3 separate regions of the Homo sapiens genome follow, and regions 2 and 3 are each linked to region 1. The links are contacts of gene promoters, found by promoter capture Hi-C in human tissues and cell types (Jung and others, 2019). All regions are on one chromosome and are shown on one strand. Each heading gives the region's core, a stretch centred on a gene start or on the middle of the fragment in contact. The rest is flanking DNA. Distances are from core to core; before and after follow the strand shown. Region 1 holds the start of SKA2 (spindle and kinetochore associated complex subunit 2). Region 2 holds the start of LOC107985048 (a long non-coding RNA gene). Region 3 overlaps CLTC (clathrin heavy chain).

Evidence for each region. The method cuts DNA at HindIII sites, captures the fragments that hold promoters and counts their contacts. A contact is called where the count stands out against the background at its distance.
Region 2: a fragment that was not itself captured here is called in contact with the fragment with the promoter of SKA2 in region 1 in 1 of the 25 tissues and cell types used here (spleen).
Region 3: a contact is called between a fragment that was not itself captured here and the fragment with the promoter of SKA2 in region 1, in 1 of the 25 tissues and cell types used here (adrenal gland).

The regions. Positions count from the first base shown.
Region 1 is chr17:59,153,687-59,156,693 of GRCh38, forward strand. It overlaps SKA2 (spindle and kinetochore associated complex subunit 2), which reads right to left and starts at 1,500. Exons shown (of 4, transcript NM_182620.4): 1 at 1,445-1,500. The coding sequence starts at 1,477. It overlaps PRR11 (proline rich 11), which reads left to right and starts at 2,060. Exons shown (of 10, transcript NM_018304.4): 1 at 2,060-2,119. RefSeq lists enhancers at 1,288-1,527, 2,188-2,237. The HindIII fragment of the contact is 17,595 bases long and covers 1-3,007 here.
Region 2 is chr17:58,572,868-58,575,874 of GRCh38, forward strand. It overlaps TEX14 (testis expressed 14, intercellular bridge forming factor), which reads right to left. Exons shown (of 32, transcript NM_031272.5): 22 at 1,320-1,382; 23 at 314-441. LOC107985048 (a long non-coding RNA gene) reads left to right here and starts at 906. Exons shown (of 3, transcript XR_001752952.2): 1 at 906-1,396; 2 at 1,909-2,017. The HindIII fragment of the contact is 5,135 bases long and covers 1-3,007 here.
Region 3 is chr17:59,669,911-59,672,917 of GRCh38, forward strand. All of the region lies in intron 14 of CLTC (clathrin heavy chain), which reads left to right. Among named protein-coding and RNA genes, the nearest start is that of PTRH2, 36 kb to the right of the region's middle. The HindIII fragment of the contact is 7,956 bases long and covers 1-3,007 here.

The DNA.
Region 1 (3,007 bases), core at 250-2,749:
AAAGGATACCTAAGCAGTAATGCCAGGGAATGGCGTGGGAAGGAGGGACGGATTACAAACGAAGAAAGAAGTCTTTTACTTTTTTAAAACTTAATCTTTTTTTTTTTTGAGACGTTGTCTCTGTCGCAAGGCCGGAGTACAGTGACGCGATCTCGGCTCACTGCAACCTCCGTCTCCCAGGTTGAAGCGATCCTCCTGCCTCAGCCTCCCGAGTAGCTGGGACTACAGGCGCGTGCCATCACACCCGGCTAATTTTTTTATTTTTAGTATAGACGGAGTTTCACCATGTTGGCCAGGGTAGTCTCAATGTCTTGACCTCTTGATCCGCCCGCCTCGGCCTCCCAAAGTGCCGGGATTACAGGCGTGAGCCACCGCGCCCGGCCAATCGTATTTAACAGACAAGCAAACAAACAAAAAAAGACAGGAGCTCAGTGGCAGGCGCTTCCTCCAAAGTCCAGGTTTTTAAGGAAAGCAGCCCAACCTGGGAAAAAAAAAAAAAAAGAAAAGAAAAGAAAAAAAAGATAATGCTGAACGAAAAGGGCTGAAGACAGAACAAGGACACTAAGAGGAAAAAAGCGCGGGCGATCAAGCTGGTAATCTAAGGATGGGAGGGAGGGAATAAAGAGAACAAGTGAGGGACGGATCCTTAAAGAAAACTAGGACAGCCCCCCAGCTGGGCGCCCCCCGAGCAGGCCAAACACGCCAGCAACAACGGGAGTGCTTTCCAATTCTTCGCCCCCGTTTTCTACTTTCACAGATGAATGAAAGTGCACAACTCCAGAGCAGGATGCCTTTCCTGTCTCAATCCCGCCCGCGCTCCGGGAGCGGAGCTCGTGGTTACGATCCCCTTCGCTCACACCTCTTCCCTCACCCACGGTTTGCCACCTCCGGATCAAACAGAAACGGGTTCCTTGGCCGTTAGGAAGTTGTGCATACAAGTCTAGCATCCTTTCTCAGACTTTCTCGGCCCGCCTTTTAGAACGTGAGCGGGTTGGCCCTACAGGGATTTCTCCTCGCCCCCGTCAGTTTATTCCCCACCCCACCCTCCGTTCCCCTTTCTTGGAGTGTGAACCACCTCTCCCTTCTTGGGACGCTTAGGGACCGTTCCATTCACATCTTTTTTGGTACAAACACAGAATGCGGTCTGCACCCGGCGCAGTTTCGTAAGGGGTGTAAAGGTGAGGGCAAGGAACAAGGAATTCCAAAGGCCCCGCACCCTCAGCATCTCCCGCCATTTCCCTGACGAGTTTCCCGGATGTAACCCCTTACCCGAGGCGGTTTAGACACCAGACGGTGGCGGCTCCCTTTGGTGCAGGAGGAGGGAACTCGACTCTGGTCCAGCCTCCGCCGCCCGGAGTTTCCGGCGACTCCAAATTGTGCCCCACCTCCGAGGCCATGGGGGAAAAATAAACTACCCAGTAGATCTCCTTCACTTTGCACTCACCATCAGTTCCAGCTTATCGACCTCCGCCTCCATGTTGAATAGTTGACATTCCGCAGACCGCGGCGGCGCTTAAGCCGCAAGCCGTACTAGCACGGAGGGCCTCCATTGGACAGCTGTCACTCAACATCTCGCACTCATTGGCTCCTCCGTTCCACCGGCTCCCGCCCATTGGAGACTGGGTAACGCCCCTCTGCATGAGACACATTTTCCTGTTGGGCAAAGGCACAAAACGCCGCAGGAGGATTGGCTGCTGTGCAAATTTTTTTTTCCATTGGCTGCCCCCTCCTCTCTACTTTCAATTTTGTAGTTAGGGCTCTGCAGAGAAGAGCTTGAGATTGGTGCAATTGGAAGAAGAGCCAACCAATCACACCAGAGCTTCCACCGACAGCAGAGGGGACGTAACACACCTTCTTTCCCCTCCGGCTTTCCTTCCCCTTCTCTCCCGCCTTCTCCTTATTCATACCAGAAGCGCCTCAGCTCTGATTGGCTGGAGCTCTGTGCTATCTCAGCCAATCACAAGCCGGGCTGTGCTCCTACACCATCCGAAGAGCGAATCGTGCAGAGACCGTGTCTACGATTGGCCTCTCCCTGACAAGGATTTAATTTTGAATTTTTCTTTATGGCGTGGGAGAGGCCACAGCCCGGACTCCATCGACTCCCCCGGCTCTTAGACTAGTAAGTGCAGGAACGATTATTTCTTTGTTATCTGAGCTCGCGTCTTGAGTAGCTGGGCCTGTTGCTGCTTGTGTTTTTATGGTTTAGGGAGGTGGGGACTTTGGCTGGACACGAAGGGGAAATGGAAAGGAGGAAGGGGAGGTTTGGGGCTGGGGAAGAAGTGCTCGGCCTGGCTTCATCTTAACCATACTTCTATTTAATTAACACTTCGCAAGATACGTTTTGGAGCAAAGCATCTGCCTTCCTTTTGAACATTTCTTTACATATTTGCTGCTCAATGCAAGTCCACAGATCAGCGGCATCCGCATCTCTTGTTTGCTTGTTACAAATGCAAATTATCGGACTCCACCCAAATTTACTAAATCAGAATATACATTTTAACAAGATTTCCCTGAGTGATTTCTATGCACATTAAAGTTTAAGTTGGTACATTTCTTGACTGGGAATATTACTATGTTACTCGATATTGTCTGGCATGCTGTTAGAGTGTCAATTTTAAATGCGTGTCCTGTTTACTGAGTGCCTAATACTGTGCGGGATGAGACTTTAGGGAGCTGCAGTCTCTTTGGAAAAACAAGACAGAACAAAAACAGCAATGCTTAAAAAAAAAAAAGCATAAAACATAAAATTTAAAAAAAGCAAGTACCCAGAAATAGTGCTATGGGTGTTCAAGAAGAATCAATTGGACTGCTAATGGAAATTAAGTAATTGAAGGCTATTTGTGGAGGAGCGCAAGAGACTTCCATAAAAATGTGTTTTAGGAAGATGGCAATGAAATGCAACAGTCATTTCCGTTGCTGCTACAGCTTTGAAAGTACCCCAGAACAAAGAACTTTTCTTCTCTTTCTTTCTTTTTTTTTTTTTTCTTTTTTTGTGACGGAGTCTCGC
Region 2 (3,007 bases), core at 182-2,681, 580 kb before region 1:
TGTTTTAAGTTGCAAACTCTACAAAGCTCAATGTTTTTGTACTAAATTCAGTAGTGCTTAGAGGAGATGTAGCATTTGCATGGCTTTACCACTGCAGTTCTAACCAAAACCTCCTAACGGCTGCCCAATAATCACCACCACCATCACCCCGCCCCCTGGCCTACAATGGGATTACCCAGTTTTGGCCCTAAAGAAAAACCTTTGCACTATGACAACACAGCCACCAGCTCTGATACCACGGCTTGGCTTCCCAGAGACAATGGGCTGGGGCTGTAAGTCCTTCTCCCCAAACACTTCTCTTCCCTGTGATTACCTGGGCTGAGTGGAGTGCTGACACTGGTAGGTGCATGGTTTATTTTGGGTGTTTTGCATGAAGCTTCCTTAAAAGAGCTGTCTGGTTCATAGGAGATACTAGACAGGTCTTGAATATCCGTCAATGATCTAAAGAATTAAGAGCACACAGTAATGATGAGAAGATGACTAGAAAAATCAAACAATATATTCCTGAGAGGTACTTTTTAAGTATAATCTTAACAAAATTTGTATGTGGCAATAGGCCAGAATTAGAGAATATCTTAGAACATCTTATGTATCTTAAAGAGAATATTAGAGAACATATTTAAAAGAGATTGTAACTTTATTACCAAAGAGACTTTTTTTTGGCGGCAGGGACAGAGTTTTGCTCTTGTCACCCAGGATGGAGTGCAATGGCATGATCTCGGCTCACTGCAACCTCCGCCTCCCGGGTTCAAGTGATTCTCCTGCCTCAGCCTCCTGGGTAGCTGGGACTACAAGCGTGTGCCACCATGCCTGGCTAATTTTAGTATTTTTAGTAGAGATGGGATTTTACCATGTTGGCCAGGCTGGTCACGAACTCCTGATCTCAGGTGATCCGCCCACCTCAGCCTCCCAAAGTGCTGGGATTACAGGCATGAGCCACCACACCTGGCACCATAGAGACTTTCTTTGCTAGATACTGTAACTTTAAACATATCAGCAGCTAAAAATAAACTATTTCCATAGATGAAATATTCCATATTTCCAGGATATTTACGTGGAAAACAGATTTAATCTACCTTAAGCGTAAACTTATTATTATTATGATTATTATTATCATCACTACATTTCCTTGAGTGTAAGCTGCTATTAGTTATAAATCATATCACCAATTTGATAACAACTTTTTGGTGAAAGAAGCAGCATACTCACATTAAGTCTACACGTAAAAATGGAAAGATCCTTACAAACAAGAATATACTATTCCCTTAAAACCAAGACTTTACACAAGCATCCCTAGGCATTCTCTTTGGTGATCATACATGTCTTTCTCTTTCAGTTCCTTTGGTGACTCCTTTGATGTCTCTTCTTGTTCATCTTCAGTACTGTGAGAAAGAAAGTAAGAAAATTACATAAATCCCCTCTGTGAACAAAGTACACTAACTACTTGCTACAAGGAACCAGTTGATCAGCCCAGTGTGAGACGCAGAGGAAAGGGCACTAAGCTCAGGAGTAGAAAGTGTGAGTTCTGTGCCAGGCACGTTGGCTCACGTCTGTAATCCCAGCACTTTGGGAGGCCAAAGCGGGTGGGTCACGAGGTCAACAGATCGAGACCATCCTGGCCAACATGGTGAAACCCCGTCTCTACTAAAAATACAAAAATTAGCTGGGCTTGGTAGCACGTGCCTGTAGTTCCAGCTACTCGGGAGGCTGAGACAGGAATTGCTTGAACCCAGGAGGCGGAGGTTGCAGTGAGCTGAGATCGCGCCATTGCACTCCAGCCTGGGCAGCAAGAATGAGACTCCATCTCCAAAAAAAAAAAAAAAAAAAAAAAAAAGTGTGAGTTCTGGTTCTGGCTGTACTACTAGCTGCGAGTTCTCTGACATGTCTGGGCCTCATTTTTCTCTCCAGAGTTGAATAAATACTCTCTAAGGGTCAGCTCTGAAATCAGTTAAAGACTCTATACGACTGTGAGCAAATTCATGAGAAAATCAACAGAGCACAGGAACTTTGCTGGGAGGTAAGATATTGGAGCAAAGGGGCACAGCCATGAGGCCTCAGCACCTGTAAGAAGCTTCCTGGCATAGTGTACCAGGAGAGGCCAGAGAGGCTTGTACCAAAAAATGGCCAGAATAGTGAAGACAAACTTGACCTGTTTCTACTTTAACCAATATTTAAGATTCAATGTCAGTACTCACTGAACATTAACTATAAGGCAGATCCCATGCTAAATCCTTCCATGTTTTCACTTTTTTTTTTTTTTTTTTGAGATGGAGTCTCACTCTTGTTGCCCAGGCTGGAGTGCAATGGCGCGATCTCAGCTCACTGCAACCTTCGCCTCCTGGGTTCAAGTGATTCTCCTGCCTCAGCCTCCCAAGTAGCTGGCATTACAGGCATGCGCCACCACGCCCGGCTAATTTTCTGTATTTTTAGTAGAGACGGGGTTTCTCCATGTTGGTCAGGCTGATCTCAAACTCCTGACCTCAGGTGATCTGCCTGCCTCGGCCTCCCAAAGTGCTAAGATTACAGGTGTGAGCCACTGTGCCTGTCCTTCACATTTTTAATCCTTGCAAAAATCCTCTGAGACCAGTGATATAAATGAAAGATCATGGATTTGGGGTTGAGTTGTGACTTTATTAATTCTGTTACCAAAAATGTTTGTTTCTCCTTCTAAATAATACAACAGGACTTTTTGGCCCTCTTGATTTACATAAATGACCACAGAACTTGTTTTAACCAATAAAATATGAGTGAAAGTGATGAGTCACTTCTGGGCAGAAACTTTAACAGCCAGTACACAACTCACCGTGTTCCATTTTTCCTGCCTTAGCAATCAAGGAAGCACAAAAATGGGGCCTCCCTCAGCCTAAGTCTGATAGAAGGCAATATAGCACAGAACATTCCTGGCCAACCCATGAGCCATGGACATGAAGCAGGAGCAAAGAAGAAACTTGTTGTTTTAAACCACTAAAATTTGGGAGTTGTTTACTATATATAGCATAATCTAGTC
Region 3 (3,007 bases), core at 267-2,766, 520 kb after region 1:
AAGAATTTACTACCTGGGCTCTAGATTAAATAGCAAAACCCTTAGGGGTTTTAGTGTAATGAAGTAGTCAAAATGTTGAAACTGCTCTACATTTTAGATTAAAAGATACACTTTTCAAAAAAGTATAGCTTTAAAATGTCTTGGCCATCATGAATATTCTGGGTAACCTAGCTGTGCTATGTTTGGACCAAAACTTTCTGGTGTCAAAAAACCCCTCCAAATGAGAAAGATTTGATACTCTGTGCTTGACTAGTGTACCCATACTACTGATTCACTTCCTTCTTTGAGTATCATTACTATTTCCTTTAAAAAAAACAACAACAAAAAAAACTACTACTAGATTCTTTTGGGGGCAGGGGGTGTTGGGTTTTTTTTTTTGTTTTTCTTTTTAAGCTTTTAAGTTCAGGGGTGCGTGGGCAGGTTTGTTATATAGGTAAACTGTGTCATGGGGGTTTGTTGTACAGATTGTTTCGTCATCCAGGTATTAAGCCTACAACCCATTAGTTATTTTTTCTGATCCTCTCCCTCCTCCCATCCTCCACCCTTCAGTAGGCCCCAGTGTCTGTTGTTCCTCTCTGTGTCCATGTGTTCTCATCATTTATCTCCCACTTGCTAGTGAGAACATGCAGTATTTGGTTTTCTGTTCCTGTGTTAATACTACCAGATTCTTAAATGATTTCTTTTTGTTTTTATTGAGCCCTCAGCTTCTATGCTTAAATTGTAACTTCTTTAGCTTTGGATTTTAATATTTGAGTTATATATATATGGAAAGCAAAATGAAATTAGCTATTATTTAATTATCACATTTTTGAGCTTTAAAAAAAATCCTCTAGTAAAGAAATGAAAAACAATCCTCTGGGTACTAGGATGGTACTGCCTTAGGTTTGCATAGCCCATGGGATCTAATCAGATGAAGATTTCCCCTCCACACTTGTGAACTGGGTACAAGCCTGATATAGTAGGGGTGTGGATGTGGATTATGAGCTTTTGAGTCAGTCAGACCTGTTTCAAATTCTACTTAGCCATTGTTTGTTCATTCAGTATATGTCTAGCTGTTACCTCAGGCAAGTTAATGAATATGCCTCAGCCTCAGTTTCTTCAACCATAAGCTATGTTTATTTATCAAGTACCTTGTATACTATAGATGTTTAGGCAGTAACTATTACTGATAAGTGATAAGCCTTGGAAAAAGGTGGAGTCAGCCTAAATGGGATTTCTGTCAGGCAAGTATTTATTTCTCTTTGATATCAATTTGTACTTGACTCTTTGAAGGAATTTACTTCCAGCCAGGATTAGAGGTGAATTTAGGGTCTTACGTCTACATAATTTGACATGGGAGCTCAATACTAAGATGCAACTATCACATTCATCCTCTGATGCCAGTGTTGAGAGTGAACTTATTAGATTCCTTGTTAACCTCCAGTACAGGGTTATGATGCCTCTTATCACTGTTATTAAACTTAATTTTAGAGGTACTAGCTACATGATAATTTACTGGTGTTGTAAGTAAACCCTGTGTCATAAGAAAAATACCCTGACTCTGATCTTGAATATTCAAGTGCCAATTGTGTGTTAGCCACCAGGAATAAAGAGATTGGTAGAACATAACTTCTCCTTTAAGGTACCCTGTGAGCAGGATAAAATTGTGTCATTAGCATCATTTGACTCATGCCCTAAGTTTGTAGAACTGTAAGCTCTCTGTAGAAAGCATATAACTGTTCATCAGACCCATGATCTGCTCCTTGCTACCTTTGATCTTATTTTCTACCTTTCTTTTTTTCTTTCTTTCCTGGTTTAGCTTCAACCACACTGGCCTGCTAGCTATTCCTGGAACTCCCCTAACCTTGTCCTGCCGAAGGGCCTTTGCTTGTGCCCTGTACTACTATTCTCTCATGACCTTCTTTCTCCTTTACCTTCTTTGGGTTTCTGATTGAATGTCAGAAGAGAGGATGTCTCAGGTTGCCTTGTGTAAAATAGAACCCATTCCTACCCCATTTTGCTTGTTTTTCTTTATAACACCACTATGAAACGTCTCCTCCCACTAGAATGTAAGTTCCTTGAGAGAATGGACTCTGCTTCCTTTGTTCCCTGCTGTATCTCCAGTACCTAAGAACAGAGTCTGATACTTGGGTACTCATAAATATTTGTTAAATGAACAAATTTATGTTGAAGAAAACCTCTGACTATGCTAATATAATTTCAAGTTTGATCTTAAAATCTTTAACCATTATAACTGGAGGTTAATTAAACATTTAGTAAGTAATTTAATATTATTAAAATGTTAACATTTCTACCATGTATAAAATCATGTGCAAATTTTAGCAATCAAGAAAATAACCTAGATTTTGTCTACTTTTTAAATCTGAAATTTTCTTTTGGAATACAGTTAGTATTCCACAAAAGTGGAATTATTTGCCACAGAAATTTTAACACCTATGCATGAAAACAGAATAAGTAATCCTAGATTATCTGTAAGTGATAAAGATAACAAAAATATTTTATATGTGTATAGGTAAGATGACTAGTGTGTTGATCCATACTTTTTTGATGTTCATTTAGTAGGAAAAACATGACATACTAAAATTTTTACATAGATAGATGCAGACAGATTCTAGAAATGATCGTAACAGCTATTAGTGCAGAGTTTCCATGGTGTTAAACAATACTTATTTTAGAAAACCTTCCTTAATGTGGAAAATCTGCAGCTTTACAGACATTTTTATTTTTTAATTTAGGATGGCTATATTAAAATTAAGATTTACCTTGGTGTTCTTGGGACACTTCATAGACTAGTCTTCGTATTATTTATAATCGAGTAACTAATATCCCCTAGTCTCAGGAGCCATTTAATTCTAACCTTGAAAATAATGTTCTTAGTGGCCATCACTGGGGAAAGTTCTACCCTACTTAGTTCTGCTTCCCTAGTAGACTGTGTTAGAGGAATCATTTATTGAGGAATGTTTCACTGTGTATAAATGAATTCCTGATGGAAACTGTTGTTTTTTGT